Regions from separate parts of the Homo sapiens genome. Here region 2 is linked to region 1. Evidence: promoter capture Hi-C in 16 types of primary human blood cells and fetal thymus (Javierre and others, 2016). All regions are on one chromosome and are shown on one strand. The core of a region is centred on a gene start or on the middle of the fragment in contact, and the rest is flanking DNA. Distances in the headings are between cores, read along the strand shown.

What was found. The method cuts DNA at HindIII sites, captures the fragments that hold promoters and counts their contacts. A CHiCAGO score of 5 or more calls a contact.
Region 2: a fragment that was not itself captured here is called in contact with the fragment with the promoter of LINCMD1 in region 1 in 7 of 17 cell types (non-activated CD4 T cells, naive CD4 T cells, naive CD8 T cells and 4 more); the score reaches 6.5 in non-activated CD4 T cells.

What each region holds. Positions count from the first base shown.
Region 1 is chr6:52,148,340-52,153,450 of GRCh38, reverse strand. It overlaps LINCMD1 (long intergenic non-protein coding RNA, muscle differentiation 1), which reads left to right and starts at 2,428. Exons shown (of 3, transcript NR_131248.1): 1 at 2,428-2,569. MIR133B (microRNA 133b) reads right to left here and starts at 4,528; the gene lies at 4,410-4,528. RefSeq lists an enhancer at 306-600. The HindIII fragment of the contact is 4,773 bases long and covers 2,017-5,111 here.
Region 2 is chr6:52,697,569-52,702,679 of GRCh38, reverse strand. No RefSeq gene overlaps it. Among named protein-coding and RNA genes, the nearest start is that of TMEM14A, 29 kb to the right of the region's middle. The HindIII fragment of the contact is 238 bases long and covers 2,383-2,620 here.

The sequences.
Region 1 (5,111 bases), core at 1,179-3,678:
CCCCGTCTCTACTAAAAATACAAAAATTAGCCAGGCGTGGTGGTGGGTGCTTGTAGTCCCAGCTACTTGGGAGGCTGAGGCAGGAGAATCACTTGAACCCAGGAGGCAGAGGTTGCAGTGAACTGAGATTGCACCACTGCGCTCCAGCCTGGCAATGGAGCAAGACTCCATCTCAAAAAAAAAAAAAAAAAAAAAAGAATAGCCAAGGGAGGGAGACTGAGCTGTTAACAGAGAAAGAGAAGATTCTGGGCAGAGAAGATAATAGCCTTCTTGATGCCTATGTATTGATAAATGATGCTTTGAAGAGTATAGACCTATATTCACTCCCAGCTATGTATGAGCTGCTGTTTTCTAACAGTCTTGCCAGCCCTGGGAATTACCATCAGAAAGAAACTCGTTGATGGACTGCACTAATGGGATTTTCTTGTTTGTCTGGATTCCTGCCAGTTAGATAGCCCCGCACTATTTTCCGTCAACTCCTTCCGGGGAAGAGCTCCTTCAGCACGCCTGTGCTATCACTTTCTTCCTCCCAACACTCACCAGATGTGGGGGTGGGGTCCATTCTGAGGGTGACCAAGAGTCGTCATGTTTGACCGGTGTGACATCATGGGCTGCCACTTACTGGCACAGGACTGATGATGATACAGGAACACACATAAAGGGACACAGCAGCAATCACAAAACCACACACCCCACTGGGTGGCCTAACCTAGATTTCTGCCCTGAAGAGGGGCTGTGGCAGGATGAGCAACCGCAACCCGTGGGCAGCAGTCCCCATTCTCTGATTCCTCTTGATTTCTTACGGAAATGGAGAGTTTGGGCTTGTGGGACCTTTGAACATGGATATCAAGGTCATTCAAACTTACCAGAAAACATGTTTTCTTAAAGGTTCTGTCTTTTTATAGTGGTGAGTGGGAGCAGGAATACATTTGCTCCCCTCCTGGTTTAAGGAAAATCAAACAGAAATGTGAATGGAAGTTGAATTCTCCAGGAGTGAATAAGAGGGGACAGTACGATATTTTGACTTTGGAGGCAGGCTATGACTAGAACTCCTTCCATCCTGTGGCCCTCAAAGATGTGTTCTGCAAAGACCCTTGAGGGCAAGGGGATAGGTAGAAAGTTGGATGACAATGTTCACTCATGTTCTCCAACCCTTGCCAGAAGTGTGCTAGCTTGCTCCCCTTCCCTCTCCTCCCCTCCTCTCCTTTTCTTTTTCTTTATTCCTTTCTCTCTCCTTCCTTCCTTTCCTTTACCTTCTTTCTCTCCCTCCCTCCCTCTCTCCCTTCTTAACTTCCTTCCTTCCTTCCCTCCCTCTCTCACTCCTTCCCTCCCTCTCTACCTCCCTCCCTCTTCTTTCCTTCTTTTTTTTTCTTTTGTTTTTGAGACAGGGTCTCACTCTGTCACCCAGGCTGGAGTGCAGTGGTGCCATCGCAGCTCACTGCAGCCTCAATCAAACTCCTGGGCTCAAGCGATCCTCCCACCTCAGCGTCCCCATCCCTGTGCCCAGCTAATTTTTGGTATTTTTTGTAGAGATGGAGTTTTGCTCAGGCTGGTCTTGAACTCCTGAGCTCAAGAGATCCGCCAGCGTTGGCCTCCCAAAGTGCTGGGATTTATAGACAAGAACCCTCATGCCTGGCCTGGCTGGCTTCTTTCTAACAGAGAGAAGACATTATTTAGTCTTAGCCTTATATGTCTTGTCCAGTTTTATCAGGCATTTTAGCCATAATATCCCAAATATGAAAGTGACCCTTTTTTAACACTCCTTTTACCTATACCTGGCATTGTTATCTAATCTTTACCTACATGACCTCTGCCCTTCCAGATGGAAAAGATCCCTCCTGTTAAGGACAGCTGGTATTTGGCCACATCATGTTTGTTTTCTGTTCTGCCAGGTGACTTCCGGGTGACAGCTCTGCGACTGCGCTTCAAGATCACCCTGCTTCTACTCCCAGAGGCATACCCCTAGTTCGCAGGGAAGTTCCATTTCATCACAGACCTGGGAAGCAGAGAGAAGCTTGTTGCCATCCTTCCCCCACACCTTACTACTGCTTTGAACCAGTGTGCTGCATTGAAAGAGATAAGTAGAAATAGTTGAACCAAAAATTACATGATCCCATAGTTTGTGCTTAAAATAAACAAAGAAGCTGATCTTTCAGTGAACATGTTTTTATTGAACACCAACTTAATTTCAGGAACATTTCAGGTACATTGTCAGAAATAAAGACTCTTAAGAATGTATTATTATGTACCCAATACTGGTTTCAGGCCTTTACATGTATTCTCATGAAACTCTATGAAGTAGATATTATTATCAATATTCCTACTTTACAGATGAGGAAACCCAGGCCTGGAGAGGTCAAGCAACTTGCTCAAGTGGCACAGCTGGAGAGTGGGGAGCTGGGACTTGAGCCCAGGTAGTGTGTCCCCAGCACCTTCAACTAAACTCCATTCTGTGCTGCCCTTTGGAACACCCACTCAATGGCCTTCACACTCCATGTCCTACTTGGGAGGACATGTGATCTCAACAGCACTCACAAATGAAGGCTTTCCAGACAGGATATTGAAGATGGTAAGATCAGTCTCATGTATAAAGCATTTTTTAAAAGTAAAGCATATTATATGCTAGTCATATGTACTAGGGTGAATGCATGTATGCTACATGCTAGTAGAATTAATAGTTGGAATATAAAAATACCCTATAGGCTGGGCACGGTGGCTCACATTTGTAATCCCAGCACTTTGGGAGGCCAAGGCGGGCGGATCACTTGAGGTCAGGAGTTCAAGACCAGCCTGGCCAACATGGTGAAACCCTGTCTCTACTAAAAATATAAAACTTAGTCGGGTGGTAGTGGTGCGTGCCTGTAATCTCAGCTGCTTGGGAGGCTGAGGCAGGAGAATCGCTTGAGCCTGGGAGGCGGAGGTTGCAGTGAGCTGAAATCGTGCCACTGCACTCCTATCTGGGCAACAGAGTGAGACCCTGTCTCAAAAAATAAACAAAAACAAAAACAAAACAACAACAACAAAAAACAAAACCCTACAGTGAGCAATGAGCCTTTATGTATTTTTTGAGTTCTTCTCCTATTTTTTTTTTAATTTGGCTCTTTCCTTCTACATACAAGTGCCTGTGGACACAGCATTGTCCTTGTGCTGTTGCCATTTACAGCAGTAAAACAACAGCTACTATTTCTTAAGGGCTTATATTTGGCTCTTTATTAACACTGTCTGTTTTAAGCCTTACGGTAACTGAGGTTGGTATCATTGTCCCCATTTTACAGATGAGTAAACTAAGGCTTGTGCAATGTTAATTGAGCTGCGGAGAGGATATATCACAGCTAATAAATTAGAGGGGCAGCATTCAACCCCAGGTCTTCCTGAATGCAAAGATTTGTGCTAGTAAGCTCTGTGTTCTCCTCTGAGGTCACTGTGGTGGGCTCTAGGCACTTATGCTACCCCATTTGTGTCAGAATACAGCATGTGAACACACATGTCTATAGAATTTTAAACCCAAATATTTACTTATTACTGTCTAAGTTCCAGACACACACCATAAAAGATACAAATCTTAAAAGATAAACTGGAAGGACAGGTCAGAATTCTCCCTTAGTAAAAGGTAGCGATTATGAGAACTTAGCTCATTACAGCCTCCATCTCCTGGACTTAAGTGATCTTCCTGCCTCAGCCTCCCAAGTAGCTAGGACTATAGGTGTGCACTACCGCATTCAGCTAATTAAAACAAAAAAAATTTTTTTTTGGTAGAAACAGCATCTTGCTATGTTGACCAGGCTGATCTGGAACTCCTGGCCTCAAGCAATCCCCTGTCTTAGCCACCCCAAATGCTGAGATTTTAGGCATAAGCCACTGTGCCTGGTGTGACAGGTACTATTATCCCTATTCTACAGATCAGGGAACTGAGAAATGATTGCTTAGTGAATAGATATCTTGGGCTGAATAGATCAATAGAGACTTGATGATACATAATGTGCTAGGCATATTTGGTGGGATAGGTAAGAATTATGCCTTGGAACTAGCCATGCTATAACTTGCAATTCAATTGGATCACACCATATATACATGTCTAATTTCTTTCCTTAGACTGTTAGCCCCTAGTGAGCAGGAGCCCTGTCTTCTATGTCTCATGCTCTTCCCCTGGCTGGCTTAGGGTTGGCACAAACTCCATCCTCAAACTCTTTCTTGACTGTGTGTCTGTCAAAAGCATGTAAGTGGCTGCAGCTGTGAGTGCAAAGGCACAGAACAGTGTGTGTTGAGCATTAAAATCTTGCTCACTTTTGACTCCAGGACTCCTCTTCTCTTCCTTCCTGGGAGCATAAGAATATGGTGAAAAAACCAGAATTGTTTTCTCAAGGAAAGTTTTAGTAGGTAATTTCAGTTGCAGTTGAATCTCTTCTGTTTCTCCAAGGACTGGGCATTGCCAGCCCTGCTGTAGCTGGTTGAAGGGGACCAAACCTCTCAGGAAGACGGACTTGGTTCCGTTTGACCAGCCAGAGCAGGGGGCATCTTTCTTCTGAGGTGACTGCAGCCTCTAGTGTGCAGGTATCTTGGTGTGTCTCAAGCATCATTTGTCTAAGCCTGTAATGCAAAAAGAAGCAGCATTAGCATCTGTCAAATGCCAGGAGCTTGCCTTGTCCAGAATGTCCTCTTACATGATTTGTACATACATCTCATACAATTTGTACATACAAATCATACATAATTTGTATTTCATGTTGCATGACTTCAATTTATTTTTTCTTTAATCTTTAATCTTTTTTCAAATAGAAACATCATGAAGATCAAATATGCTATAGAATTATAGAATATGAAAAATGACAGTATGCCATAATGCTTCCTCTTCCCATTTTCCGAAAGAAATGTAACATTTTGGCATATATTCTTTGAATGCTTAACATTTTAATTTCTTTAAATTATGTTTTTAATTCAAGTATGATATATTTATAAAAGAATATTTATAATATATAAGTGATGGTACATAATGGTAAAACCAATACCCATGAACAACGATCTACTTTTTTTTGTTGTTACTTTTTTGAGATGGAGTCTCACTCTGTCACCCAGGCTGGAGTGCAGTGGCGCTATCTCAGCTCACTGCAACC
Region 2 (5,111 bases), core at 1,252-3,751, 550 kb before region 1:
GATCTCACTACCTGGTTTGAGTAATTATTAATATTTTGTCATGTTTACCTTCAATATATATTTTTTAAAAACACAGACAGAATTGTGTGTGGTGGTAGGCACCTGTAATCCCAGCACTTTGGGAGGCCAAGGAAGGAGGATTCCTTGAGGCCAAGAGTTGGAGACCAGCATGGGAAACATAGCAAGACCCCGTCTCCACATAAAAATTTTAAAAATTAGCTGGGCATGATGGCACATGCCTGTAGACCTGGCTAATCAGGAGGCTGAGGCAGGTGGATTGCTTGAGCCTAGAAGTTTGAGGTTGCATTGGGGTATGATCGTGCCACTGCACTCGAGCCTGAGCAACAGAGCAAGACTCTGTCTCTAACAAGAAAGAAACTCCACAGTTAATATATTAATATAATCTTGTTTAAAATATAAAATACTAACAAATAAGTCTAAAATTTAATAGAACCATCACCTCCATCTCCACTTAAGCAACTTCTATCCAGTCAGTCCAGTCTTTATATTTTTGCACTTACTATGTGGGCTCACCAACCTCTGACTTGTGGACCTTTGGAAATAATTTACATAAACGGCTCCTTTTGTGTACTATTCTGTATTTTCCTCTTTACAATCAATATTATGTTTTTGCAATTTGTCCTTTTTGAGATGGATAGATGACAGATGGACAAATGATGAGACCGAGGGAGAAAGAGAGGGGGTGGAGGAAGACTCCGGTTCATTCCTTTATAATTGTTTTCAAAATTTCAATGTTTAGGTATTGTTGCATTAGAATTAGATCAGAATAAAATATGATAAAACATGCACAGAAGACAATGTGAATCCAAAGCCTACCTATCAAAAACACTCCAGTATCTTTGGAGGGCATTAAATATTTTTAGTGTAATTTTTTAAAAAGCTGAATTTGTCATTGCTTCTTCTGATGACCTAATTTTTACAAAACAATAAAAGGCCAATTCTCTTTTCTGAGCTATATGAAGCTCTTTATTGGATCTTCTGATTCCTCACCATTTTTTAGACTTAGGGTTGGTATTATTATGGTTTGTCAGAGTTAGATGGAAATTCTAGACAGTCATGCATTACTTAACAATGGGATACATTCTGAGAAATATATAATTAGGTAATTTTGTCATGTGAGCAACATAGAGGTTATTCTCCCAAACCCGGATGTAAAGACTGCTACACACCTGGGCTTTATGGTACAGTCTATTACTATTAGGCTACAAACCTGAACAGCATGTTACTGTAGTGAATACTGTAGGAAACTGTAATGCAATAATAAGTATTTGTGAGGCCGGTTGAGGTGGCTCACACCTGTAATTCCAGGACTTTGGGAGGTTGAGGTGGGTGGATCACCTGAGTTTGGGAGTTTGAGACCAGCCTGACCAACATGGAGAAACCCTGTCTCTACTAAAAATACAAAATTAGCTGGGCATGATGGCGCATTCCTGTAATCTCAGTTACTTGGGAGGCTGAGGCAGGAGAATTGCTTGAACCCGAGAGGCGGAGGTTGCAGTGAGCCAAGATCATGCCATTGCACTCCAGCCTGGGCAACAAGAGTGAAACTGTGTCTCAAAAAAAAAAAAAGTATTTGTGTATCTAAACATAGAAAAGTTACAGTAAAAATATAGTATTATAATCTCATTGTATAAGCAGTCCATGGTTGACTGAAATATTATGTAGCACATGACCGTAGCCAATAGCCACCTCCTGTGCCTGAAATTTCCTTGTGTTATGAGTCAGAGTAAATTTTCAAAAGTTTAATAATTATGCTCTAAGATTTACAATTTTGCTGAAATGGCTGTGCTTTGCTTGTCTTTGGAGCCCCTGCTGTACCTAACACAGCTCCTCACACAATTAGCCTTTAAGCAAAAGATAAAATTGAAGATTTTTAAAAGTTCAGGAGCGAAACCTCTTTGGTGTGATCCGGCGAAACTCAATCAAAACGTAGCAGAAAATTCTTCAGATAGTATCTAGTCTGAGAAATCTGGATGTACCCCATATAGTTTCATGTCCAGACCTAGAACTGTGAATGCCAGCAGGCTGGACTGCCTCCTATTTCCCACAACCCTACCTCTCCCTCCAACCTGCCACCCTCCCGCGGTCTGCCCACCTCCTCTCAGGGCTTACCCTGGTAAAGCCCTTGTTGGAATTGGAGATTGAGCTCTGCCTCTCTGATTCTTGGAGACTCGCCGGATCAGATAGCCTAAGTTACCTCAGAGTTCCTGACATGAAAAATTGTAGGAGAAACTGAAATCACAAATGTATGCATTTTTCATCACACTTCATAAATATTGTAAGTTGTAAGTAAATAGTGCTTAGGAAAAAATAAGTAAAGTAAAGCATGTTTAGGAAAAAAATGCTGCTTTTTGGAAAGCTTTGTTTTATACCTTGGTAATCACTGTCCATATTCTCATATTTGTTAACTTTGGAATATGATGACTTCCTTTTATAATAATTATTTACATAAAATTACACATTTACCAAGATGATAATATTGAAGATGTAGTAGGCTTGGTGAGAGGGCAACCTAGCTCTGGTTCTTCTACCATTTAGCTGAAAGACTTTAGGCAAGTCACTTGACCTCTCTAGGCTTCCTAAGCATCCAAAGGAAGCTTTGGTTAAGAAGAGCTCCAATATTATAATGTCAGCTGCTGCCTTTCCTTTTTTCCTGGTGAAAATATGAGAGAGAGAAAGAGACCCACCAACTCTCTGAAACATGGAAGTGTTTTGGAGCATCGAAGGTAGTGAAGAGAAAACATCTAGTACTGGGGATTGTAAAGCAGACCCAGAGAGAACTTATTTTGCAAAAACAAAGAGCAGAGGGGATAAAGACGAACTCCCTCCCCATATTCACACTCACACTCTACCCTTGCATACAGATTATTTTTAAATTTAGTAAGCATCCAATTTCTACTTCTGAATGCCACATTTCTGTTCATTAAGACATAGTCATAAGGAAAATAATATGTCTACTAAACATCTGCTCATTTTTAGAGAAAGGCCAATATGGGTGGCTGAAAATTTTTATCCGTATTTTCTAATTTTTCTACAATGAGTTTTAGCACTTCTGCAATAATATTGAAAATATTTTTAAATAAATAAGGGGAAGAGAGCTTTACATCCATCTTCTTTGTCTTATAAAAATGGCAGAATTCCCTGAGACTGAAATGTCTCTTACTCTTGTGTTTGAGAGTTGAAGTTAATGCTGGTCTTCAGGTATAGGAATGAGAGTGATAGGACATCAAGGTTTAACACTATTTAACATTAAGTACTTAGGAATTATGACCAGGAAGCTATGTATTAGCATCTTCTCTGAATATTTTTTATTACTCCAAATTGTAAAATTTAACATTTCAAATTATTTTTTATTGTAAAACGGATAGAATACAATCTGGGAAAAATAATATTTTCCAGTTTTTGTTGGGTTTTTACATCTCTATGCTAGAAAATATTAATAATACAGGAAAACTAATTGTATTTCAATTTTATGTTAAAATTATGCTATACAAAATGCACACATTTAATTGGTAAATGTATTTTAAAGCGAAAGTATCCAGAAGTTAATTGGTAACAATCTAACAATAACACTGATTAAAAACTCTTGTGAGTGGTAAGAAAAGATAGCTTGATTTATGTTTCTTTAAATATGCAACAAAGGATCTTTTAAGTTAATTTTGTTTTATTATTAGATTGTTACCAAGTAACTTCTAAGATTAGCTGCAACTTAATTCCTATGTCTAAGCCTCTTTGGCTTAAAGAGAAGGTATGTAATGAGACAATCAAATATTTGCCTGTTCTTTAGCACTAGGAATAAGGGGTAACAAACACCACCCAAGGGAAAGTTATGAGAAAAAAAATAACAAAGGTCAAATACTGAGCCAAGATGGGAGTTAGTCTTTACTATACATCATGTCATTTAACCATCATGACAGCACCACCAGTAGGTATTAGCTTCATTTCACATGTTAGGAAACTGAAATTAGAAGAGAGTAACTTATCTGAGCCAATTAAGGGGAGTAGCCTGCATTCAAATTGCGGCTGAAAAGTTTACCAGGCAAGTTATATCTGCACAATAGTAGACTATAGATATTTCTCAATCAACTGAGTTCAGTAAACCCTTTGCTTTGGTTTTATATAAAAACTTCCTTGCTTTCGTAAGATCCAGAAAACGACAGCATGGGTTCAACAACTTACTTGAAATATTGGTTTATTTGGTGGTTAGGCCTTTTACTTTCTATTCCTTTCTGTGATATCAACAGTAATAACAATAAAAATGTTAATAGCAACATATTCTTATATTCTTTCATTTTTCAATTTGAAGAAAACCTTTTTGAAACAGACGAAGAATTTGAGAAATTAATCCAAGGTGAGATAAACGCCTTGTTATTCGTGATGTTGCATTAGACCAAAGAGATGAGATGGTCTCTCCATTAATATGAAAGGCTCTCTCTCTCTCTCTCTCTCATATTCTAAATAAGAGCAGTGAAAATTATGTAAATAGTATCTATCCATATCCTATCTCCATATAAGGAAGGTAGTGCTTGGATCTTGCAACTAGGAGGAGCCCTGCCTCCAAGCTTCTAAGCTGTCATAATTCCAACCCCCTTCCTTTGTTTTTGTTGCCCTAGGGATAATGTCTGCTTTCACAGTTGCCAACTTCATGATACTGCACTGTTCCTTTGTTGTTTTCAGTTCTCCAAGATATAATTCATTCCTTTATATTTAATGTTCTGTGCTAAAGTACCTGATGTGGTTCTGTCTCCCAGCTAGACCCTGAAACAATGGAAAGGAGAACTGCCTCAACTTCAGGTGTTAAATGGGAAAAGGGCAGAGCCAGCCTTACTGTTGCCATTCTGAGGCAGAGAGAGAGAAAGAGAGAAAGTCCCTCCAGTCTTTTAAATTAAACGGTTGTTCTCTCTAGTTACAGTTGGTTGGCTGGTTGGTTGATTGGTTGGTTGGTTTTAATGCAAATATTCCTTGGGAAGATTGAAAAAGTAAGCCCAAAGCAGAGAGCTGTCAGCCAGAAGGGAGATCACTGGGATTCCAAGAAGGGAGGGGTAGGACATGGAAGGTTGATGTAGGAGAACGGTGGGAAACCATGTGCA